Regions from separate parts of the Homo sapiens genome. Here regions 1, 3 and 4 are each linked to region 2. The links are contacts of gene promoters, found by promoter capture Hi-C in human tissues and cell types (Jung and others, 2019). All regions are on one chromosome and are shown on one strand. Each heading gives the region's core, a stretch centred on a gene start or on the middle of the fragment in contact. The rest is flanking DNA. Distances are from core to core; before and after follow the strand shown. Region 1 holds the start of VAV2 (vav guanine nucleotide exchange factor 2). Region 2 holds the start of CACFD1 (calcium channel flower domain containing 1). Region 3 overlaps BRD3 (bromodomain containing 3). Region 4 overlaps WDR5 (WD repeat domain 5).

The links. The method cuts DNA at HindIII sites, captures the fragments that hold promoters and counts their contacts. A contact is called where the count stands out against the background at its distance.
Region 1: the fragment with the promoter of VAV2 here is called in contact with the fragment with the promoter of CACFD1 in region 2 in 1 of the 25 tissues and cell types used here (lymphoblastoid cells).
Region 3: a contact is called between a fragment that was not itself captured here and the fragment with the promoter of CACFD1 in region 2, in 1 of the 25 tissues and cell types used here (dorsolateral prefrontal cortex).
Region 4: a fragment that was not itself captured here is called in contact with the fragment with the promoter of CACFD1 in region 2 in 1 of the 25 tissues and cell types used here (lymphoblastoid cells).

The regions. Positions count from the first base shown.
Region 1 is chr9:133,990,893-133,994,917 of GRCh38, reverse strand. It overlaps VAV2 (vav guanine nucleotide exchange factor 2), which reads left to right and starts at 2,594. Exons shown (of 30, transcript NM_001134398.2): 1 at 2,594-2,843. The coding sequence starts at 2,640. RefSeq lists silencers at 1,882-2,191, 2,292-2,391, 2,452-2,601, 2,872-2,961, 3,002-3,441 and 1 more and enhancers at 1,282-1,471, 1,368-2,095, 2,824-3,551, 3,552-4,025. The HindIII fragment of the contact is 15,000 bases long and covers 1-4,025 here.
Region 2 is chr9:133,458,285-133,462,044 of GRCh38, reverse strand. CACFD1 (calcium channel flower domain containing 1) reads right to left here and starts at 2,067. Exons shown (of 5, transcript NM_017586.5): 1 at 1,858-2,067. The coding sequence starts at 1,978. It overlaps ADAMTS13 (ADAM metallopeptidase with thrombospondin type 1 motif 13), which reads right to left. Exons shown (of 29, transcript NM_139027.6): 29 at 2,659-3,071. The coding sequence ends at 2,865. RefSeq lists silencers at 1,552-1,851, 2,142-2,241, 2,252-2,471. The HindIII fragment of the contact is 20,945 bases long and covers 1-3,760 here.
Region 3 is chr9:134,061,367-134,065,334 of GRCh38, reverse strand. All of the region lies in intron 1 of BRD3 (bromodomain containing 3), which reads left to right. Among named protein-coding and RNA genes, the nearest start is that of BRD3, 4.7 kb to the left of the region's middle. RefSeq lists an enhancer at 1,835-2,746. The HindIII fragment of the contact is 7,576 bases long and covers 1-3,968 here.
Region 4 is chr9:134,150,049-134,153,883 of GRCh38, reverse strand. It overlaps WDR5 (WD repeat domain 5), which reads right to left. Exons shown (of 14, transcript NM_017588.3): 9 at 1,855-1,901. Among named protein-coding and RNA genes, the nearest start is that of RNU6ATAC, 13 kb to the left of the region's middle. RefSeq lists enhancers at 978-1,497, 1,498-2,018. The HindIII fragment of the contact is 8,625 bases long and covers 1-3,835 here.

The DNA of each region.
Region 1 (4,025 bases), core at 1,345-3,844, 530 kb before region 2:
GCCCAGGCTGGTCTTGAACTCCTGGACTCAAGCCATCTGCCTGCCTGAGCCTCCCAAAGTGCTGGGACTACAGGCTTGAGCTGCTGTACCTGGCCCCACCAAACTTTTGTTCTTTGATTCACATCCATCCTGCCCTCAGAGCCTCCAAGGATTCTGGGAGGTGCACAGGGCCGGTGAATGTCCTATGCCGATCAGGACCTGGGAACCAGGGAGGCCTGAGTGGCTCAGGGCCACTGTGGTGAAGTCTGTGTCTCCTGAGTTGGGTCTTCTCAACGGTCAACCCCAGATTTTCTGTGCAGCCCCTCCTGGGTGCAGCCAGGTGCCCCGTGGTGACAGCACCACCAGGGGGCAGCAGGTACCCATGGCATTGTTGGCGGGCGGCTGCCTGGGTCCCAGACCTGGCTGGTCCTCTTGGCCAGAGCAGGCAGGCCCAGGACCGTGAGGACAGAGGCCCCCTTCTTGCTGAGGGAGCCACCTGGGGAAAGAGACATTTAGTGCATCAATGCGCCGGCGGTCCAGGCGAGGGGTTGGGAGAGTGGGTAGCTCTTCTTCCTCTCTGAGCCCTTTCTGTCCCAGCACAGTGGGAAGCCTCTGGGTAATTTATCCGTCCATTCTTCACAAGCAAGTCCAGTGGGAGCCGGGTCTCCCCGCTCTAGAGAGGAGGGGATGAGGCTTTGCAGGAGGAGGGATCAGTGTAGGCTCTCAGATGGGGCTGGAGGGCCCCGCTCAGGTTTCACTCCTGGCTTTCTGATTTCTTAGGGAGATGCTGATGGGTCCACCTGCTGCCCCATCTTGCTTCGGTGAGGAAAGCTCTCCCCCTTGCCCTAAAGGTGCCCACTGCTGCTTCCTCGGGGAAGGGCAAGAGACCTGAGCCCCCGCCTCACCAGCCACCTGGCCTGAGTTTACTGCTGCAGGGGCCAGCTCCTTCCTGACCTCTCTCTACGGGCCAGACCCTAAGCTGGGACCCCCTGCTTCCACCTCAGTGGAGAAGGGGTGAGTCTGACTCTGCAGAGACCAATTTCCAGGACAGGACCCCCATCGGAGGCCCTGGGCCCAGGGGACCCTCTCTGCGCTCGCATCCCCGTTCCGGCCCCTGCGCAGGGAAGCCACGGGGTAAGGGGTCCGGGGGCTGCAGTGCAGCCCCAGCTCATACAGGCCCAGGATTCCACCGGAGTCCAGGGTGGGAGCCCTCAGACACCGCACCCCAGCCTCCGGGCTGAGCCAGTCTCAGAGAAGGGCTTGGACTTGCCTGGTGTCCCCCAGTGAATCAGCAGTGAAAACCCGCGGTTCCCGGCAGCTGAGCCAGGATCCATATAATTTCAGTTGCAGAATCTGTTTGTCCTTGAAGCCCCTCCTACCGTCACACGTTGCCAGCTGGACAGACCGCGCCCCCACCACCCAGGGTGTGGCCTAGAAGGGAGATCAGGGCGGATCAGCACCGGGGCCGGCTGCGACCCTGGGCCGGAGAGCACCTTCCTGCCCTCACTCATGTCACGCATTCCGCCCTGGACGCCAGGAACTGCCCGCTGGGCAGCTGCGAGTGGCCAGGACTTTGGCCAAAAGCTGGGGAATCCTGGCCTTTATGCAGGGTCGGGGGTCTTCCTATGGGCCCCCGGCCAGGGCGGAGGACAGGAAGAGGGCTCTGGGAGTCCTGGGCCCGTGTGCCTTCAGCCTCAGCCTCGGGTATCCCGCCGGGGCGGCTTGATGGGCCAAGGGGGCTCAGTAAGCTTCGGCCCAGCCCGGTGCCCTCTCCCGAGTCTGTCGTTACCGAACGGCCATGCGAGGGCGCCCAGCGCGACAGGGACCACCTCCTGACCTCCACGGAGGACCAAAGGCACCCGGGGGGACGCCCGGCCATCACTCCACGGGCGAGGTCGCTCCCCCAGGGAGAAGGGCTCCCCAAAGTCCGAGCGCCCTTGGAGAAAGTCGGCCGGACCTGGGCCTGCGCCGCAACCCCCGCCCACCGCAACTTTCGCGGGCGGTAGCGGGGCAGGAAGTGGGGGGGCGGGGGCGGCGCTTGGGACACGGGGAGGTGCCAGGCGAGTGCTCCGGCCCCGCCCCTGCCCCGCCCGGCCGTGGCCGCGCCCCCTGCGCCCCCAGCGCCCCGGAGCCGTGGAGCCGCCGAGCCGCCGAGTCGTCGAGTCGCAGCGCCGGGCGTGGGGACTGCGGGTGGGGCGAACAAAGCGGCGGCGACGCGGGCGGCCCAGGCCCGGGACGCGCGGAGCGAGCGACCCCGCCGGGCCTTTGTCTCGGGCGGGGCAGGAGCCGCGGCGGCCGCGGGGCGCCCCGAGCGCAGAATGCGGCGCCCGGCGGCGCGGATTGGGGAGCGCTGCGGCGACTGGCTGCGTGGAGCCCGGCCCGGGGCCCGCAGGCACTTGCGTGTGTGAAGCGGGGAGATCCGGCGCGCTGCCCGTTGCCCGCCCCGCGGCCGCACGTGGGCGGGAGCGGCGGCCCGAGAGGAGCCCGAGGAGTAGGAGGAGGAAGAGGAGGGGACGCACGGCGGCGCAGCGGGGGACCTGGGGCAGCCCGCGCGAAGCCCCGCCCCGGCCCTGAGCCCCGCGCGCGCGCGGGCGGGATGCCCCGCGGCCGCTGCACTTTGGCTCGAGCACTGCCCTGAGCCGGTCGGGCCCGCGGGCGCCATGGAGCAGTGGCGGCAGTGCGGCCGCTGGCTCATCGATTGCAAGGTCCTGCCGCCCAACCACCGGGTGGTGTGGCCCTCGGCCGTGGTCTTCGACCTGGCGCAGGCGCTGCGCGACGGGGTCCTTCTGTGCCAGCTGCTGCACAACCTCTCCCCCGGCTCCATCGACCTCAAGGACATCAACTTCCGGCCGCAGATGTCCCAGGTGAGCGCCCGGCGGGCGGGAGGGCCCCGGGGAGGCGGCGTTCGCGCTGCCCGACGCGCGGACTGAACGCGGAGGTCGCAGCGGCGGCGGCCCAGGCGCCCTGGCTGGGGCGGCCGGGCTCCGGGACGCGGGCGGGCGGCTGGAGGGTGCGCCCCGGGCCTCCGAGACGCGACCTCAGGAGGCGCGAAGTTGGCCAAAGTCCCCTCAGCCTGGGTCGCGCCGCCGCCGCCCGCGGGCACTGCTCTGGTGCGCCGGTTCCGCGGTCTGCGCGGCCTGGGATGGGGGAGGCTCCGGCGCTGCGCTCGCTCTGCGGGGCCCTGCGAGTGGCCCCTCATTTCCCAGGGAGCCTGCCGAGCCGGGTGTGCGCGTCGTGGGTCGCATCCTTGGGCCTCGCGCCTCCTGGCCGGACGCCGGTGGAAGAGCGGGCGCGGTCGCTGCGCCGGCCCGGGGCGCGGCTGGAGGGCCCGGGAGGGGCGCGGGGCGGGAGCCCTCGGGGCCGGAGGGAGCTGGGTTGGCCCCGGGCACCGCCCCCTCGCCGGCCTCCGCCTCTTCCCGGACCCGGACCCGGGCCACTTGGCGCCAGTCCTGGCTCCCGGGTCGAGCCGCCTCGAGGATCCCCAGGGCCACTTGGCCCCAGTCCTGGCCCCCATCGCTTTCCCAACACCCCCACCCCTCCTTCGGGCGCTGAGTGTGGCCTTTGTCGCGGCGGAGGCACGCGTGCGGCCGCAGGGCCAGGCAGGAAAATGCCTGCCCAGCCGAACGAAGCTGCTTTTCTTGGCCTCTTAAGAGGGAACTTGGCTAAGACTTGAGAGAATCGAGGCTTCCGTCCTGTTCTCCGGGGGTCGCGGAATCCTTACCGGGAGCAGCTTAGAAGAGGTCGGGGGAGGCAGAGCGGGTGGCAGCCGGGTCCACCCAGCGCCGAGGAGGTGCGGTCTTCCAGCCAGCTCAGCAGCCCCTCACCGCGCGCAGTGGCAACTCCATGTGGAGAGGGACCATTCACCAGTGGGACTTAGGACGTGGTTCCTGGGAAGGAGGGAGAGTGAGTCACCAGCGATTCCAGGCTGGGCAGCGAGGCCTCTGCCCTTTGGCGGTGACTGCGTTTCCTAGGAGACCGGGCCTTTCTCTGCCGGGTTGGGGGGCGCTGACAAAGGCAAGCCCAGAGGGGAAGGGGCCGCCTTCCCA
Region 2 (3,760 bases), core at 818-3,317:
CCTCAATGCTGATATCTTCCACGTGAGGGGGCTGTCACCATGCAATCCTGTCCCCTCCCAAGGTATCACCTCCAGATGCTCTTAGGACCCAGGGTAGACCCTCTCCAGGTACTCTCTCTGATCCCCTCACCCTGGAGGAGGAAAACCTTACCCAAGGACCAGCCCGGCACACAACCCTTGTCTGAACTCCTGCCGCATCTCTAAAACACCCTGCATTTTTGCATTCTACCCTGTAATACAGCATTTTGATGTTCACATAACCATGCCCCCAAAAATCTGCAGATGCAACTGACAACTCAGGGCAATGCCACAAGTTTCTCCTGAAGCTTCATCTGTAGACCCAACAGAGCCCCAGGAACTCCCAGGAAAGGCAGAGGTACCTCACTTTGAGAGGCACAGAACTGAGTAAGACTCCACAGCAAATCTGGGAGTCGGCAGGGCCACTGACCAAGAAGGAAGGAGGTGTGGCCTACAGGCCATAGTCAGGACCTTTCCTTTCTCACCACTGACCATGTCACCCCACTGCACTGCCCACCCTAATCTGCAGGGAAAACAGCTAACCAGACATGACAGGACTGGATCCAATGCCTAACTTCAAACCCACCAGTCTCTCCTACAAAGTCAAAAGCGTACTTGCCCTGAAGAGCAGTGACACAAACTCGGGGCCTTTTTGTGATTTGGGGGTAGGGCCTGCCCTACCGTATCCGTTGCCTCTGGATAAGGGCATGCCTAGCGAGGGCAGCACACTCCTAGCCCAGCACCCTCCTGCCTCAACCTCCCTCCACCCTCTACCCACCTGGAAAGGCTGTGGAACCCAAGGTGACCCTGAAAAGGTGGTCCTTCTGGCAGGATTGCTGATGGGGCCTGCCCTGCCCAGGCCCAGAGCTAGCCCTCTCTGCCAGGCAGGCACTGTTTAAAACCTGCAGACATCCTCGACAGACATTCTCTAAGACCTTGCCCACTCCAGTAATCCACAAGATTGAGGGCAGACAGGAAAGGAAAGGGTATCACTCAGACAGACTTGTCTTTCCCTGGAAGGCCAGCTGTACGGCTTCCATTCACTCCTGGAGCTGACCTGCCTCCCTCTTTGTCCTTTTCTGGCTGTGCTTAAGAGCCTAGCTTCCCTGGCAGCCTAAGGTCAGGGTCTGTGACTGGGATGCGTGCGGAGAAGGGGAGGAAGGCCGGTGACAGGCGGCTAAGGCAGCAGCAACGGGGGAGATATGAGAGCGGACAGAGGACCCAGGGAGAGGCCGGGCCCTCAGCTCACTGCCCCGCGGCCCCAGGGGCCACCTGTGCCCTGACACCACCTGACCCTCAGCAAACTTCCGCCCAGTGGCTTCCTGCCAGAAATCTAGCCAGCCGTGCACCCGCCTCCCTTACAAACAATCCTTGCCCAAAGGTTAGCAATGTGGCTGCCGTCACCTACGCCCAAGTCAACAGTTGACGCTTTAGTACGGGCCAGGTGGGCATGCGCCCCGTGAGCATCACCGAGAAAGTCTCACAAAAGCCCCTGGGGAGCGGGGGGAGGGCTCAGTCACGTGCCCCAGGCCGGTGCCCCACCCCCGCCCCCGCCGCCCCCCCGCCCTGGGGTTTCTGGTCCCTCCGGGAATGTTCCCAGAAGCGCCAGCCCAGCCCAGCCCGGGGTACCAAGGCGCCCAGGCCCGAGCGGGTAACCATGGCAACCCCAGGACGCCGGCTCCCGGCGGCCCCGCCATTCCTCCGCCCCGGGAGGCGCCCGGCAGACCCCCGACCCCCAGCGGGTCCTTTCCCCTGGGGCCGCCGGGGCGGGGCGGGGCAGGGCAGGGCGAGGAGCGCATGCGCGGCGGGGCCGGCCCCTCTCCCCGACTGGATACTCACAGACTGCCCCCAGCACCCCAGACAGGCGACACAGCCAGCGGTACCACCACGTCATGCCCTCTTCCTGCGCGGGCGGCGCAGAGCTGGCGGACGCCCCGGGCGCCCCACCTGAGCTGCTCATGGTGCCACCGTCAGGCGCAGCTCACAGCCCTCACAAAGGGCTCGGTAGCCGGCCGCGTCCGAGCCGGCGCGCTGCCTTGTGGGAGAGGGAGCATATTAGCATAGGGGGCGGGGCTTTCAGGCTGCGGCGAGGCGCGCCCGAAGGGAGGCGGGTGCTCATTAACATAGTGAGCGGGACCCTCATGCCGCGACTAGGGGCGTTTGAGGGGAGGTAGGTGCTCATTATTGTAGGGGGCGGGACCCGCAGGCTGCGGCGAGGAGCTGGGGGTGGGGAGCTCGTTAGCATACGGGGCGGGGCTCGCAGGCATCGGAGAGGTGTGCCCGAGGGGGGCGGGCGTCATTAGCGTAGGGGGCGGGGGCTCGCAGTTTGCGGCGACTTGCTCCCAAAGGAGGCGGGCGCTTATTAGCATAGGGGGCGGGGCCTGGAGGCGCGCAGACACCTTAGCGGTCAGAGCCTCACACCAGGACACACGGGTGGGGCTTCGCAGGGAGCTGGCTAATGCGCCATCCTCGGAGTGGAATCCTGATTGGATTTTCTTCCTGGATAGGAAGAAGATAACTAGGGACGTCCAGCGGCTTGCTCAGATCAAGATAGAGCCAACCGCGGCCAGCGAATCCCTGCCTTGCCATGGGATGGGTTTTCAAGCCAGGTCTGGACAGCTTATAAGAAAAAAACGCCGGTCAGCCTGCATGTTTTATTTATTGGTACCCGAGGAAATGGGGGCTGCTTTTCCAGAGTCCCCACCTCCAACCCCCTAGCCTTTTGGACATTGGAGAAGACTCTAAAGTAGATACCTAAGATTGGAAAAAGTTCGAATTGGAAAGCACTGAGACCAGGGGTCAACCCTCCAGGGCTGGCCAGACACGGAACAAATGTTCAATGACCCTCAGGTTCCTTCCTTTCCCTTCCAGGACTGAGGGTCCTGCATCTCCGGTACCCATGATTGGAGGGTCCAGTACTGGCCCCGCAGGCTGGCCTGAGCCTTCAGGAAGCCCTCGCTGAACTCCATCTCAGCCTGGCTGCTCTCTGACTCCCAGTAGAGCACCTGCTGCCCATGGAACGCTGTGGTCCTCAAGCTGTGGGTGTCCCGGATCTGAGAGAAAAGGGGCAGCCCAGAAGGACCGGCCACAAGTAATAATTAGCACTCACGGAAGCCTTCGTGTGCAAGGGCTCACAGATTCCGGATCACATTTAATGCTTACAAAGCCCTACTAGGAATACGCCATTACTCTACCCAGAAAACCGAGGTCCAGGGACGTTACATCACTTCCCCAAGGACACACAGTCAGGGTGCCAGAGCGGGGCCAGGCTGCCTCCTCTGGGGAAGCTGATACCCTGCAGAACACAGTTCTCCCAGGACACTTGAAACCTCGGGGAGGGTGCAGGGTGCTATTCTGTCCAAGTTATATCAGACTGTAAAATTATGCTTCAGTCTTGGGTTAGCTGTCAGTCTACATCAGAAAGGTCTTTACCATTCTTTACCATTTCGCTTTTTTTTTTTTTTTTTTTTTGAGACAGAGTCTCACTCTGTTGCCCAGGCTGGAGTGCAGTGGTGCGATCTGGGCTTAGTGCAACCTCCACCTCCCGGGTTCAAGTGATTCTTGTGCCTCAGCCTCCCAAGTAGCTGGGATTACAGGCACACGCCACCATGCCTGGCTACTTTTTCTATTTTTAGTAGAGACAAGGTTTCATCATGTTGGCCAGGCTGGTCTCGAACTCCTGACCTTGAGTGATCTGCCCTCCTGGGCCTCCCAAAGTGCTGGGATTACAGTTGTGAGCCAC
Region 3 (3,968 bases), core at 1,403-3,902, 600 kb before region 2:
CTCCTGCTTCAGCCTCCCAAGTAGCTGGGATTACAGGCGTCCGCCACCACGCCCAGCTAATTTTTTGTATTTTTAGTAGAGACAGGGTTTCACTGTGTTGGACAGGCTGGTCTCGAACTCCTCACCTCGTGATCCACCTGCCTTGGCCTCCCAAAGTGCTGGGATTACAGGCATGAGCCACCGTGCCTAGCCAGCAGGTCCCTTATATCACGAAGCCAGTATCTGGTTGAAGCTAGAAGGTAACTGGATGAATCATGGTAGAATGCAAGGCTTCTTGCCGTAAAAGGTTTTGGAACTTGCGGGTCTGCCTTGGGCCTTCCCGACCCCTGTGGCTCCGCCCCCTTGTTGGAGCAGAAGAGATGCACAGGTAGCAAAGCATGATGGGGTGCCAGGTGCATTTGGGTCAGCGTTTGCCAAGAATGGCCTTGCTCCTGTGTTTTTGTTGGTACTGCCACCTTGTAGAGGTGCCCAGCTGGTGGCGGAGCATAGGGTTTTCTTTGCCTATTCTCCTTCCTGTGAAATCATGGGCACAGACATCATGGGCCCCTGTGCCCGGGCCTCCCTGCTCTGGTTCCTGGGCTCCTGCCATCTGAGAGGCTTGAGGGCTTGCTTATTTGTTTGTTTGTTTGTATTTTTAGTAGAGATGGCGTTTCACCATGTTGGCCAGGCTGGTCTCAAACTCTTGGCCGTGAGTGACCCACCCGTCTCTGCCTCCTGAAGTGCTGGGATTACAAGCGTGAGCCACCATGCTCGGCCAAGATGCTTGAGAGCTCATTTATTTATTTACTTATTTTGAGACAGAGTATCACTCTGTTGCCCAGGCTGGTGTGTAATGGCATGATTTCCCTTCACTGCAACCTCCACCTCCTGGGTTCAAGCAATTCTCCCTGGCTCAGCCTGCCAAGTAGCTGGGATTACAGGTGCCCGCCACCACGCCTGGCTATTTTTTTTAATTTTTTTTAATTTTTTAGTAAAGATGGGGTTTCGCCATGTTGGCCGGGCTGGTCTTGAACTCCTGACCTCAGGTGATCCACCCATCTCAGCCTCCCAAAGTGCTGAGATTACAGGTGTGAGCCACCATGCCTGACCGAGAGCTCTTTTAAAGAGAAAGTGTCACTTTGGGCCATTCACCTGTTGGTGGTTTAAATTGTAAGTCTTCTGGCCACTCCTGATTGAGCTCGCAGTGGAGCCAGGACCTGTGCGTGTGGCTGGAGGCTCGGACCCTGTTGTGTCCGTGCTGTTGGCTGTCTGCGTCTCGCACCAGTCTGTGGCTGTTCCCTGAGAGTCAGTTCGCAGGCTGCCTCCTCACAGGGCCTTCGGAGCCTGGTGTTGGGAAGATGGGGCGTGGAACATGCCCCCGCCCCCCTCCTTGCCGCAGGCCCCCAAGGTACTGAGTTCGTCAGAAGTTAATCCGGTATTGTGGGAGACAACTTTTCCAGCCACTTGGAAAAGTGTCCCGCTGAGGGTGCAGTGATGTTCAGGAGTCGCCGGCTGGATCTTTCTGAGTGTGGCTTGATAACCAGCTGCAGCATTTTGCAAAGCACCCAGTGGACTCGGGTGTGATCTGCAGAGGCGGCTGCTGGCCAGGCCTGGAGTCTGGGGCAGAGGGAGTGCCCTCAGTGCACCTGTGAGGACCTGGGACTAAGAGTCGGTACCTGGGAGCTGTGGGACTCTGGGGCGGGACGGCCTTAGCCTCCGTGTGAGCACTGACCGAGATGAGGCACAGATGCATCTGTGTGAGGTGCCCGGCCCCTGCAGGAGTGCTGAGTATTGTAGCTATAACCTGTCATGTGGCAGAAGGAAGAATCTACTATAAGCGGCTGAGAGGATGCCCTCCCTGTGCCATGCGTCACTGGAGCCTTGGCCTGACAATCCCACAAGGAGCAAAATGTGCAAAGGGGCAGCTGTGTGAGCCTGCGGGTCCAGGGTGCCACCCGCCCCCATCTGCCCACACCACAGGACAGAGCCCTGGGTATGCTGACCAGGCCCTCGCTGGTACCAGGGGCTGGGTAGGAGGCAAGGGTCAAGCACGGTGGCTCCGTGGGCTGTGGACTCACAGACAGATGTGCTGCATGCCCACGCTTTGCTCTTAGCTCTGCCTCCGGTCTGTCCCGGCAACAGGCCTGGGGGCGTCCTGCAGTCCTCGGCATTTGTGGTTGGGGGTGAGCAGAGAACATAGACGAAATAACCAAGGGGATGGTCTGAGAGCTGCGGCCCTGCTGGCCCCTTGTCCTGGCTCGGCATGGCTGAGTGGGACAGCAGTGAGGCCAGGCCTGTCTCCTGGGGCCGGGGTGTTTTGTGAGTTTGGTTCTTGTCAGGCCGGCTGAGAGGAGATGGAGCAGACAGATGGATGCTAGGTGGGCCTGCCGCAGCTTTGTTTTAGGAAGTGCGGAGCACCAGGGCCTGACCCTGAGGCTGTGTCCCTCTAAGAGCACGGTGTCTCCTTCCCTCTAAAGGGCCAGGTGCTGTCCTCACTCACTGCCCCTCTGAAGAGAGTCCCCTGCCTGAGTCGTGGCTCTCCTGCCCTTCCCAGACCCGTGGGAGACCCTGACTACGTGGCGGTGGCCTGGGGTTGGGAGGGCCTGACCAGTGTCTGTGGGGCCAACTTCCTCGTTCCCAGCATGTGTGGAGGGTCGGGCCTCCTCACGCGCCTCATGAGGGTCCCACGGGGGTAGAGCGTCCTTTGAGTCCTCTCTATTCGAGGAGTGGGTAGAGAGGCGGGTAGGGACGGAGCTTGGAAGAGGTGACGGGTTGTGGCCAGAAGGCTGTGGGGGCGTCATGGCAGGAAGGGAAACCTTCAGAGAGGCCGCTCACCCAGGGCCGTGGGGCCATGGAGAAGCACAGGCCCTGGGTTCAGAAAGCAGGAGGCATATGAGGTCTTAGGTCTAGAAGGCACTGGTGGGTGCAGAGTGGGGAGAACTGTGGGGTGCAGGGGACAGTCACGGGAGAGGCAGCGCTGGCAGCTGCACCTGCCCAGCGTGTCTGGGGCCATGCCCCAGGATAGCCCCACCAGTCTGCTGAAGCGCCCCGGGACAGGGCTGGGCCTGTAGAGCCGGGCCCTCCAGGCGGCCAGGCAGCTGCAGGAGAGCAGGTGCGCTGTGCATGGGGGGCTCACAGCACTGGGCAGATTCCCCTGGGGAGTAGGCGCCAGGGCTGGCCGTGCCTGCTTGGGTGGGGCCCACGATGCCCAGCTGCCCTCCCCAGGGCTCCTCCAGGGCTACAGGGGGCCCCCAACCCCCGACTTCTCCCCTGGCTCCATAGAAGGAAGCAGTTGGCTCCGTCTGTCACTGAAGGCAGCCCTGCCCTGACAGATCCAGTTTCCCGAGTCCTGGAGGGTGGCCGCTGGTCACCACGTGGGCTGGGGAGGCCCCTCTGGCCGCCTGGGGACAGGTGCTAGGTTGGCCGGGTTAGATGGGGCTGTGGGGGCAGCAGGCTGGGATCCCTTCTCACAGACTCAGCTCCCTCCTGCCACAGCCGATCACAGCACTGCTCCCAGCATTATCCCGAGAATTCTGGGGCTGTGGGGTGTTGGCGGTGAGTCTGGCATGGATGTCCAGCTTTGTTCAAGCTGGCTCTGGCCTTCTCTGCCTGGGCGACGTTGTGCCCCTTCACCTCTGAGCGTCCCCTCCACTTATGGAAGATGGGGCTCATCTGACCCCCACTGACGCAGGACAGAGTCCAGGAGACGGGCTGGAGTGCCCCAGTGGGGGCCATCCAGTCAGGGACACAGGTACAGAGGCCCAGAGCTATGGAAATTCCAGGGCTGGAGACCCATGGGGAATGGGGAGCCCCTGGGAAAGGCCTCCCCTAGCTTCCTCCAGCACCCCCACCCTTGGTTCCAGTGCTCCTGTCTCCCACCCTTTAGCTGGCAGGTCTGGTTGAGCCCCTGCAGAGCTATGTAGCCCTGCCCCTCCCTGCCACTGCTCCTCCAGACTCATGCTATAGCTGGAATGGCCTTGGTAAGCTGT
Region 4 (3,835 bases), core at 505-3,004, 690 kb before region 2:
TTCAGGACATGGCAACCCCACGACCCTCAGAAGTGGAGGAAGGCATCTCCTCTCACCTGAGTGAGGAGGAGGGAATCTCAAGGAAGGTGTGTCCTGGTGCAGGCCCCACCCCTGGGCCCCACCAGAGACCCCCACCGACCCCCAAGCACGTGCACGCGCTGGTGTGTCCCGAGCACCGGGAAGGACACGGCCCTCAGCATTACCACCACGGGGACGCCTGGCCTCGCCAGGCACCTGGCGTCTCCGCTCCCTCAGCCCGGTCACATACACTGAAAAGGCACGGGAGACGCTGTGAGGCCATGCGGTCCCTCCCTCAGGGGCACACCACGTCACACCGCCAGGCAGGCCGAGGTCACAGTGAGGGCCGGGGGGCCGGGCTCCCTTAACACAGCTGATGGCAAGCGTGTCCGCATGCCTAACCCAGGCTGCCTGGGCAGAGCCTCACAGAGATGAACGCATCAGCCAACCTGTCTCAGTGAAGTCCAGAAGGGTCTAACTCGCTAGACCTGAGGAGACGCCGATGGGAAAACTGCTATGCAGCGACCCCTCCGTCCCCACCCTGGGCTCAGGGGCGCCCAGGCTGGAATCCCAGTCCCTGCACCTGCTTGCTGTGGAGCTTTGGGCTAGTGAATGAGCCTCTATGCAGGATGAGGACAACCCCCCTCCTCAGAGGTGGCCGTGAGGGTTACGTGTGCTCACACAACAGCGGCGCACACAACTGAGCACAGGTGGCCCGTCCAGGGGACACCAAGTGCGGTGTGATCTCAATCAGGAGAGATGCATGGCAAAAGGCTGGCCCCACAAGGCAGGAAGCTATAAAGACCGCTGTGGCAAGGGGACTCATGCTGAAGCCCAAGCCTCCAGAGCCTCAGAGGCGAGTGTACTGGAGACAGGGCCTTCAAAGAGGGCGACAGAGTGAAAATGAGGCCCAAGGGTGGTGTCCTTACAAGAGGACATTTGGACACACGGAGGCACCAGGGACACTGGTGTGAAGCCAGGGTAAGGCAGCGTCTATAAGCCAAGAAGAGGCCTCCTCAATCCTGACCACAGCCTCCTGGACTGCGGGGAGACACATTCCTGCCACAGATAGCCTCCCAGCCTGTGGGGCTTGGTCTCAGCTAGGCCAGCAGGCTATGACAGACTAGAGGGAAGAAGGGCGCAAACGGGGTGCCTCCCCACACGGGGGTCCATCCCCCCATCCTCACCACCCAGCTCCCTCCTCAAGGTGCGCCCCATCCCACACATCTAGCCTAGGCTTCTTAAACACGAACACTCCCCGGATGAAAACCCTTCCGCTCCTTTCTGCAGGCTCTGCAAGGGGCAGCTGGGAACCCCGGGCCGTCACAGACCCTCAGGCCACACCCTGCCCAGCACCTGGCCTTCCCATCCAGGCCACGCCACGTCCCTCCTTCCTCTCCTCAGGCCTGTCCTCCGTGCCCCCAGGACACCTCCATCCACCTCGGCAGCACCCCCAGCAGATGGGCAGGCACTCAGCCGGTCACTCAAGGAATGATCCAAGAGGCTGGCACGACAGCAGGGGCCCGAAGCCAGGAGGCAATGGGGCTGCCCAGAGGACTCCAGTGAGCAGCCGGAGTGAGGCCGACAGCACAGGTGGAGGAGCCCCAGGCTGGCCCAAGAGAAAGGCCATGGCAGGAAAACTGCACCAGAAGGAGCAACAGAGCCAGCGGGCGGTCAGGGGGAGCTGGCGGAACGGTCGGACACGGAGGAAGGTTCCTCCTGCAGGGGCGGACCCAGGGCAGAGGAGGGAGGAGGAGCTGGTGAAGAACAGGGGCAGTGAACCCAGCAGGGGAGGCCCTCCCCACAGACCCAGCCCCCACACAGAGCCACACTCACCGATGAGCGTCTTCAGGCACTGGCCTGAGGCGGTGTCCCAGATGCGACTTCGAAGCAAAGAGAACAAAAAAGCGTAAGCAGACAAGTTATGATCTCACGCGGGCTGCTGGGAGTCAGATATAAATTTTAGGACTAGCACGCTTTTCCCTATCTTTTTTTAAAAGTTATGCTTCACCTGTTTAACAGTCATTCTCTTATATTCTAGGGACAAAGACTAAACACTGTCCATACAAACATCAACAGTCCACACATGCTACACACGTGCAGACCATGTGTGGGGTACCTCTGGATCTCTCCTACACAAGCCACAGTTGACCCCCAACACAGAGCGGGAAGCCTGTTGCTCTCTCCACTCTCCCTGGCCAAGGAGAGGGGCAGCAGCAGCCCAGTGCTTCTCGCAGGCTCTGCCCACGCTCATGCAAACACATGCAAGCAATGAGAGGGCTTCTTTCAAAACAAAAATTTAAGAGTATTGTAAGCAGTCTTCTGGACTATTCCCAGAAGGTACAAGCCAGGCATTTACATTGTTCCAATTTCAGGGTTTCTGTGATTTCTGCCAATACAGACGCATTCTGGAAGCAGAGCCCACTGTGTTAGCACCCACAATTCTACTGCACAGATGCCAGCAGCGGGGAACAGGCTCGGGTCACACGTGGACAAATCATTCCCCAAGCACGAGACCCCATGGCCGCCATGCACGGTCCCTCCCATCTCTCACCCATGGAGAAGCCGCCTCTGGGAGGGCCCCGAAGCTCTCTGCTCTGCACACCCACCTCCTGTTCTGCCCACACTTCAATAATCCAGGGACGAGACCACACTGGACCTCAGACACTTCACCCAGGGTTTTCAAACCCAGAAGCAGCAACTCTCCTCCCAACTCTGCATCTTCTCAATTCTCTCAGCAACAGCTCCATCCTGCTGCCCCATGGATCTCAAATTCATGTCCTCTAGCTCCGCAATCACTGCGGGAGGGCCTCTCCGGAGCCGCCTCATCTCCTAACCCTCAAGACCTAACCCCCGTGTGTCCTTTCAGTTCCATTTCTCATTTCCTGCATTGGTCCTGCTCCTTCTCACTAGCCGCATTCCTAAACATCTTAGCATTTTTGTCACTGTTAAAATGGAAACATTTTCCCCATCTTCTAACTGGCAATTCCTAGTATACAGAAAAAAGTCCATTTTCAAGCACTGATGGCACTAAACGCGAGATCACACCACGTAGCTAGCAGGGCAGGGGGTTCCAGGCCCAGACTCCAGAGCTGACACGGGTTCTGGTCCTGCACTGAGCAACTGAGAGACCGTGGTAACTGTCCCTGCCTGAAAAGCAAGGCTGACAGTACCCACGTCACAGGGTTAAATGGGTATTTGAAAAGCAGTGTTGGTGGCTTTTAAATATTTTAAAACATGCAAACATATCTACAAAGATGTGTATCTCTATTCAATTTTCATAGGACTATTTTTTCATTTTCTTACACTAACTAGAAACTCCCAACAATGCTGAGTAACATGGGAACCAAGCACACCTGTCCCACTTCTGATTTTCATAGAAAGAGTTTCAGCATGTCGCCACATGTGAAAATTATTAGTTACCAGTAAGTGGTCAACAATACTGCTCTATCTTGCTGAAGGGTTGGCTGCTGGATATTATCAATCAGGCGCCTTTTTGACCCCTACTAATTAATAACAGACAGAGACATTTAACGCCTTTAATCTGTTGGTAGAATTAGATAATAGGTTTCCTGATGTTTACGTTATAATCCTTTCATTATCCAATAATGAATGAATTCCTTGGCTATGGGAATTCCTTTCTGTGCACGGTAGGCTCAGGAGGCTGCTACTTCCTCTGGAATCCTGGCATCAACATTCACCAGTGAGTTGCCCTCTGTGGTCTTCCTCTGGGACCAGCAATCAAGGCTTAGGTAGCAAGCTCATGCTAAAACCAAAGACATGAACCAGGGAGCTCCCTCCCGCCTGTGGTCTCGAA